Regions from separate parts of the Homo sapiens genome. Here region 1 is linked to region 2. Evidence: promoter capture Hi-C in 16 types of primary human blood cells and fetal thymus (Javierre and others, 2016). All regions are on one chromosome and are shown on one strand. The core of a region is centred on a gene start or on the middle of the fragment in contact, and the rest is flanking DNA. Distances in the headings are between cores, read along the strand shown. Region 1 overlaps GDE1 (glycerophosphodiester phosphodiesterase 1). Region 2 holds the start of ERCC4 (ERCC excision repair 4, endonuclease catalytic subunit).

Region 1 (3,471 bases), core at 52-2,551, 5.6 Mb before region 2:
AGAGTGCTGGGATTACAGGCAAAGTGCTGGGATCACAGGCATGAGCCACTGCCTGGCCAGCTTTACCAGTACTTCTATGTTATTCCAGTAATTGAGATAAAAAGATGAATCCCTGGTTCTAATTCACATATTAGTATATATAGGAGATATTGCAAGTTCAGTTCCAGACCTGAGTAAATAGTCAATAAAGCAAATATAGTAATAAAGGGAGTCACAAATTTTTTGGTTTCCCAGTGCATATAAAAGTTATGTTTACACTATATTGTAATCTATTAAGTATTGTGTATGTATATATATATATATATATATATATGCACATACACACACATATATAGGTTTTCATCCATGGTTCCTGGCTCATAACTCTCAGCCCTTGCTACAGTATTTTGTTAGGCATCCTAGGCCTTAGGAGCAGGCCTTGGGAAACAGAATCTCTCCTGCCCTCCTTTCACCTACCCCAAGGCAGGACTGGAATCTTTCCCTGTCTTTCAAATTGTGAGTCTTAAGACCCTCCTCAGAGAGGGACCCCACCCTATACCCTGGGGGAAGGAATGCTGACATCATGAAGCTTCCATAAAAACCTAAGAGGAATTAAAAAAATAAAAACTAAAATAAACCTAAGAGGACTTGAAGCCAATTGGTCAGAAGTTCCATAGGCCCCAGCTTGCTATTTGTGTCTGGAGGAGGGTGGGGTGCAGTCTTGGGGACCAAGCCCTCAACCTATGATCTGACACTATCTCCAGGTAGATAGTGTCAAAATTGAGTTGGAGGATACCCAGCTGGTGTCCACTACTTATTGGTGGGGAAAAACCCCCACATTTTTGGTCACAGACGTCGGGGTTGATTGTTGTGAGAGCAGAGGGAAAATGTGATGTGTTTTTCCAAAATAGTCGTACATCTGTATCACATGGGAAAAGGAAAAGATTTAAATAAAGCAGAAAAATCTCCACCCATAAAGGACGTTATTGATAAATTTGACTATATTACCTTTAAAGATGTGTTTAAAAGGACATAATAAATAACAATGGCTAACATTTATTGAAATCTTAACTATTCACTAGCACAGTGCTCTGTGTTGTTTATGGGTACTTAAATAAAAACCGGTAAGGGAGTGACATGAGAATGATATACACCAACTTTAAGATGGTAATTACCTCTGGAGAGGAAAGGAGGAGAATGAAAGGGAGAATTTCAGCTGTATCTGTAGTGTTGATAGTAAAACTGAAGCGGATAAGAGTGCAACTTCTACTGCATCCTAGCTTGTGCAGCCCTGGGCAAGTTTCCTACTCTTTCTTTGTCTCAGTTTTCTTATCTGTTAAATGAGAATATTAATAGTACCTGCTTCAGGGTTGTGAGGATCAAATAAGTTAATACATTTAAAGCACTTAGAAGAGTGCCTGGCAAGTAGAAAAGGCTCAATAAATAATAGTTTTTGTTTTTGTTTTTGTTTTAGTACAGAAAGAGACTGAGGAAATTAGGTCAAAATATTCACATATGTTAAATCTTTTTTACTGTAGATGTTTGCAATAGACCATGACTTAAAATATTTTTTAAAAAATTAAAAATCTTGATCATAGCTGGGCACAGTGGCTCACACCTGTAATCCCAGCACTTTGGGAGACTGAGGCAGGAGGATTGCTTGATCTCAGGAGTTCGAGACCAGCCTGGACAACATGGTGAAACCCCATCTCTACAAAAAATACAAAAATTAGCTGGGCATGGTGGCACGTGCCAGTAGTCCCGGCTACTTGGGAGACTGAGGTGGGAGGATGGCTTGAACCCAGGAGGCGGAGGTTTTAGTGAGCCGAGATCATGCCACTGCACTCTAGCCTGAACAACAGAGCCAGATCCTGTCTCCAAAAAAAAAAAAAAAGAAAGAAATCTTCATCGTAATGAGCATTTCACATCTTTATTGTGATGAGGAAGCCAAGGAAGCAAACATTAAATAGTGTGTCTCCAGAGGAGCATGGCTCGTGTAATTTAAGGTTCAAATTCTCTTTTTAGATAAATTCTAATCTACCTCATCAAGCTTAACAACTTATGGGCCAACAGCCAGTGCTGCTTACATAAACAAAATGTGATATGTCCTAGAAGCAGGCGTGGTGTCTTTGTGGTAGAGGGTGGAATTAAACCAACAAAAACCTGACTCATTTATGCCAAAGTAGTGAAATATCTGACTAATCAACAACCGTAGGGTGATCATCAGAACTGCTGTACCAACAAATAGTGTAGGTAAACAGTGGAATTGTCTAAGTATTCATAAGCCATTGATGACCCATATAGTTAAACATCCAGAGAAAACATAAGTTCCTGAAGTCTCCTAGTCTTCCACTGTGAAAGTAAGAAGAGTGGGAAAATTAAAGTTTTTAAGGAATCCATCAGTTAGGAATTGAAGTAAGGTTATATACACAGAAAACAGAAACAGATCAGGATTGCTGTTTGGTGGGGGAAGTGGAAGGAAAATGAATCAAAAAGGACAGCTGTCTTAGGAGCCCTGCTGGTCTTTTGGGTGGTTAGATGCAAAATAATGTTTGTGGCCATTTGACAGTAATATTCTTGATGTTTTTGTTAAGGCAGCTAAGAATGGAGCAACAGGCGTGGAGTTGGACATTGAGTTTACTTCTGACGGGATTCCTGTCTTAATGCACGATAACACAGTAGATAGGACGACTGATGGGACTGGGCGATTGTGTGATTTGACATTTGAACAAATTAGGAAGCTGAATCCTGCAGCAAACCACAGACTCAGGTAAGTAGTTTATTGTCACTTAAACAGATCTTTTAGCTTTTATTGGAAATGACAGACACTGGTGCCTTCTAATTACATCTGCCCCAGGAGAGTTGTCTTGTTTTGTTTTGAACTGTACGTAGGTCTTGTAAGTAATGAGCAAGTGCCAGGAACAACAGAAATTTGGCATTATGTTTTTAATCTTTCCCACTGAGGCTAAATTTGGCTTCAGAATTATTGTCAAGATAATACTGTCTAGTCATAGAATCATGAGGCTGAAAGTCATTGCTTGGCAATCTTCTTGCCTTCAGGTGTACCAAGAAGCAAATTATACATTCATTAAAAGCTTCAAGTAACATTATAATATCACATTTTAACTTAACCCATTTAATTCTTCTGATCCTCATAACAAACTTCTGAGGAATCACAGAATTGTAGGAATAGAGAGTATCCTAGAAATCATCTAGAATAGCACTTTGCAGTAGAACTTTCTGCAATGATGGAAATATTTTATATCTGCACTGTGTAATATGGTAGGTACTTGTGGCTATTGAGCACTTGATATGTGGCTAGTGACACGAGGAAGTGAATTTTTAATTTAAATGTAAATTTAAACTGAAATAGCCATGTGTGGCTACCATATAGGATACTACAGATCTAGATCAATCTTGCCTTTAGATATAATCCCAGAAAAGTTAAATTATTTACTCAAGGGCAAATAACTAGTTCATAAAGAAGCCAAA
Region 2 (3,720 bases), core at 699-3,198:
GTGATTTCATTTGTTACACGGCGAGGGAGGTGTTCAACTCCTTCTATCTTCAGCTGATTGATAAAATACTCCTAAATCAAATCAAACTTGATTAGTAGGCTATTTAATACAGGGCAGTTTTTAATAGGTCACAGATATTTAAAATAATGTGCTGTCTTTCTCTGAGATAATGAACTTAATAATGAATATACACACTAAGTTACTTCTTTATAGTAACTTCAGCCAACCAGTCTACATTTAATGAGGTTTTCTTGTTTTGGGGTTTACACTAAGGAATAATTGCACTTCAGTCATTATCAGCACTCAACTACAATAACATATGCACACACATACAAAACCTCAAACTTTTAAAAGCCTGGATTAAAAGATTTCTGCTACCTAGAAAATACTTCCCACCAAAGCCAGGTTTGTAGCCAAGCACATTCTATGAGATGATAACAAGGGAATCCTTTCCCCAGACAATGTTTTAGACTATCAGTTCTGTGCTAATCTATCCTAGAGGGACTTCATGTCACTGGGTCCCTTGGCTTGGTTTATTTATATCCCCAGTTTAAAACCATCTTTACTAGGCCCTGTGTGTTGCCTTAGGCCCTATGCCAAGCACTGGGGATACCTAGATGAATCAAACAGGATCCCTGCCCTCAAAGAGACTGTGGTCACTCTTCTCAGCTGACATTTTTCTCCCGGCCACCTGATATATCTAGGGGATCATCAGACTTGTCCGACCAAGCTGTGTCCCCTCTCAACACCCCTCAGACCCATGTGTAGCCCCATTCCATCTTTCTCAGTGTTCTCCATTGTCCTTAACTGTAGTTAACCTTTGCCAACATCCTCAGCGTCAAGCTCCAATCCCTTTCTGACCCTATGGCCCTCTTAACACAGCCTTGGTGAATGTCCTATTTCCTGGTCCCTCCTTTTCCCTATTGGGGTTTTTCCAGCGCCTCAGCATCTCCTTTCATGTCTCCCCATCACCCTCAGAGATCTTCCATCCTCATCACTGTTCCCTTTCAGGGACCTTCCTTCTGCCCCCAGAAACTCCCTTAATGGCCAACTTCAGGACTCTCCCGTTATTCCTATCCAGATCCTCCTTCCGACATCTCCCCCTCCCCTGCAGCGACCTCCGATCCTCTCCTACCACTCAGAGCCCCTTCACCTTTCAGTGCCCTTGCACCCATGTCAGGGACCTGCATCCTTCTGGGGACCCCTCCCATCCCTCTTAGTGTTGTCAGGGAATTGCATCCTTCTCGGGACCCCTTCCATCATTCTCACTGTGCCTGCACAGTGTCAGGGACCCGCATCCCCTGGGGACCCCTCCCATTTCTCTTAGTGTTCTTGAACTCTGGTCAAAGACTTGCATCCTTCTTGGGACCCCTCCCTTCCCTCTCAGAGTCCCCGCACAGTGTCAGGGACTGGCATTCCTCTTAGTGTTCTTCAACTCCTGCCAGGGACCTGCAGCCTTCTCGGGGCCCCTCCAATTCTTATCAGTGTCCCCGCACGGTGTGAGCGACCGGTATCCTCCTAGCGACCCCTTACATACGTCTGTGTTCCCGCAGTGTGAGGGACCTGCATCCCCCTGGGGACCCCTGCCATCCTTCTCTGTGTCATCGCGTAGTGTCAGGGGCCTGAATCCCCCTCAGAGCCCCTCCATCCCTGTCAGAGGCCTCGCATCCGCTCAGGAGGCCCTCAACACTCTCGGAGTCCCCTCACTCCCGCGCCAGCGCGGCCGCACCTCCTCGGCCGGCTGCGTGTTGAGCACCAGCACCAGGCAGGCTGGGTGGCAGTGCAGCTGGAGAAAGTGGTAGAGGAGCCGGTCCGCGCCGAGCCCGCGGGCGCACACTACTAGCCCGTCAGTGTCGAGCAGTTCCAGCACCAGCTGTCGCTCGTACTCCAGCAGCGGCGCCATGGCAATCCGTCGAGCCGGCTGCCCTGACTCCATGGAAGCTCTTCCGGGTCGCAGCCGAACGCAGCCGAAGGAAGCCGACTCCTAGTGGAGAGTAGGCCGAACTCAACCGAAGAGAGCCGAGTCCGAGAGGACGGCAGCCAGCCGAACGTAGCCGAGGAGAGCTGAGACTGAGATGATCGTGGGCCGAACGCAGCCGAAGAGGAGCCGAGGCCACGACAGGCGCGCTCTCAGAAAGCCGAAGAGAGCCGAGCCTGAGAAGGCAAGCGTTGGCCGAACTCAGCCGAAGAAGAGCCGAGTGGAGCCGAAGATTCATGGAGTCACCTGTAGGGGCTGGCGCCCCCTGTCGGTGTAGCTTGCAGATATCAGGCTCCATTCACGTCTCTTTTGAGTTTCCACATCCCCTGGCACCCTAGCCTCAAGCTGCCAAAAAGCAAGGGAAGGGGAAGTAAGCCTAAGGAGCTTAATCCCCCGACATCGACAGTTGAAAAAGTTACTGGTCAATATTCCAAATGCGCCAAGAGTTAGTAGCACCTGTTTCCTAGGGTGGTTTTTGGCCCTTCCTTTTGCGATTACTCCCCATCCTTCTTTTAATTTTTTTTTTCTTTCCCGAGACAGGATGTTGATATGTTGCCCAGGCTGGAGTGCAGTGGCTGTGGAATAAGCAGAATCATTTACTGACTTCAGACCTCTGTTTGCCTCCCAAAGACTTCAATACAATAAACTATTTTTAAAAATCCCTCCTTCCACTAGAGGGACACCTCCCGCAGTGTTTGTTCTATACCTAGAAATGCCTGATAGTTGAACTAGTAGAGGAATTGTTTTGTATAGAAACCCCCCACCTTTGTTATTAGAAAATAGAAAATACAAGTAAACAAAAATGAAAATCACTTGTTTCCATTACTTGGAAATAACCACTGTTAACATCACGAAATCTATTTTATTTAGTCCTTTTTTTTCTATCTATATACACATTCTCTCATCACACGGAGTTCTTTTACCGACACGAGATAATTAATATCCCTGATTTAAATCCCCAGCTTTGTCATTAACATTTGGCAAACCTCTGAACATGATGTTTCATATTCTTTTACAAAGTCCTTTTATATGGCTGATGAGATTTCCATTATGTGGGTGTACTTACCTAATTGCTTATTAGAGGACATTTAGTCTGTTTCTGCTTTTTCCCTTCCAGTAATATAAATAATATTTCACTAAACATCTTTGTATGTAAATTCAGCCGTGGCCTTCAGATACACGTCTAGAAATGAATAATCACTGGGATAAAGAGAAAAAAATTTGTAAGGCTTTTCATTCCATTCACATTGCCACATTGCCCTCTAGAAAGCCTATACCAATTCACATTCACACTAGCCGTTTCCAAGAGGATCTGTTCCTCTACCTCTTTACTGCTTAATCTGGTATTTTGCTTACATTTTGTCAAGATGAAAATAGCATATAATTCCTGAATGCTGTTTAAGTGGAAAGGGTTGCCGGCAGACACTTTACATACAGCGTTTCCTCTGAGGCAGATATTAATCTCGTCAGTTCTGCCAGTGAGAAAAATGGAGGTGCAGGGAGGTTATATAACTTGGGCAAGGCCACGGGAGCTAGTTAGTGTATTTCTTAGATCTATTTCAGGACGTGATATGGGGGTACTCAACACATATTTAGGAAATGAAGATTGAAATGACAAAGCTGAAATTCAAACCTGACTCCCAAGCGGTGGTAGGCAGAATATCGGCTTCCCAAAGATGTTCATATCCTAATCCCTGGAGCCTGTAGGTTGTTTTATGTGGCAAAGGGGGGTTTGCAGATGT

Evidence for each region. The method cuts DNA at HindIII sites, captures the fragments that hold promoters and counts their contacts. A CHiCAGO score of 5 or more calls a contact.
Region 1: a fragment that was not itself captured here is called in contact with the fragment with the promoter of ERCC4 in region 2 in 1 of 17 cell types (activated CD4 T cells); the score reaches 5.1 in activated CD4 T cells.

Annotation. Positions count from the first base shown.
Region 1 is chr16:19,516,292-19,519,762 of GRCh38, reverse strand. It overlaps GDE1 (glycerophosphodiester phosphodiesterase 1), which reads left to right. Exons shown (of 6, transcript NM_016641.4): 2 at 2,574-2,749. Among named protein-coding and RNA genes, the nearest start is that of GDE1, 4.1 kb to the left of the region's middle. The HindIII fragment of the contact is 1,461 bases long and covers 571-2,031 here.
Region 2 is chr16:13,918,382-13,922,101 of GRCh38, reverse strand. It overlaps ERCC4 (ERCC excision repair 4, endonuclease catalytic subunit), which reads right to left and starts at 1,948. Exons shown (of 11, transcript NM_005236.3): 1 at 1,730-1,948; 2 at 1-71. The coding sequence starts at 1,936. All of the region lies in intron 1 of LOC105371093 (a long non-coding RNA gene), which reads left to right. It overlaps LOC124903647 (a long non-coding RNA gene), which reads left to right and starts at 2,024. Exons shown (of 2, transcript XR_007065001.1): 1 at 2,024-2,423; 2 at 2,519-2,637. RefSeq lists enhancers at 1,495-1,704, 1,745-2,104, 2,315-2,364. The HindIII fragment of the contact is 6,939 bases long and covers 1-3,720 here.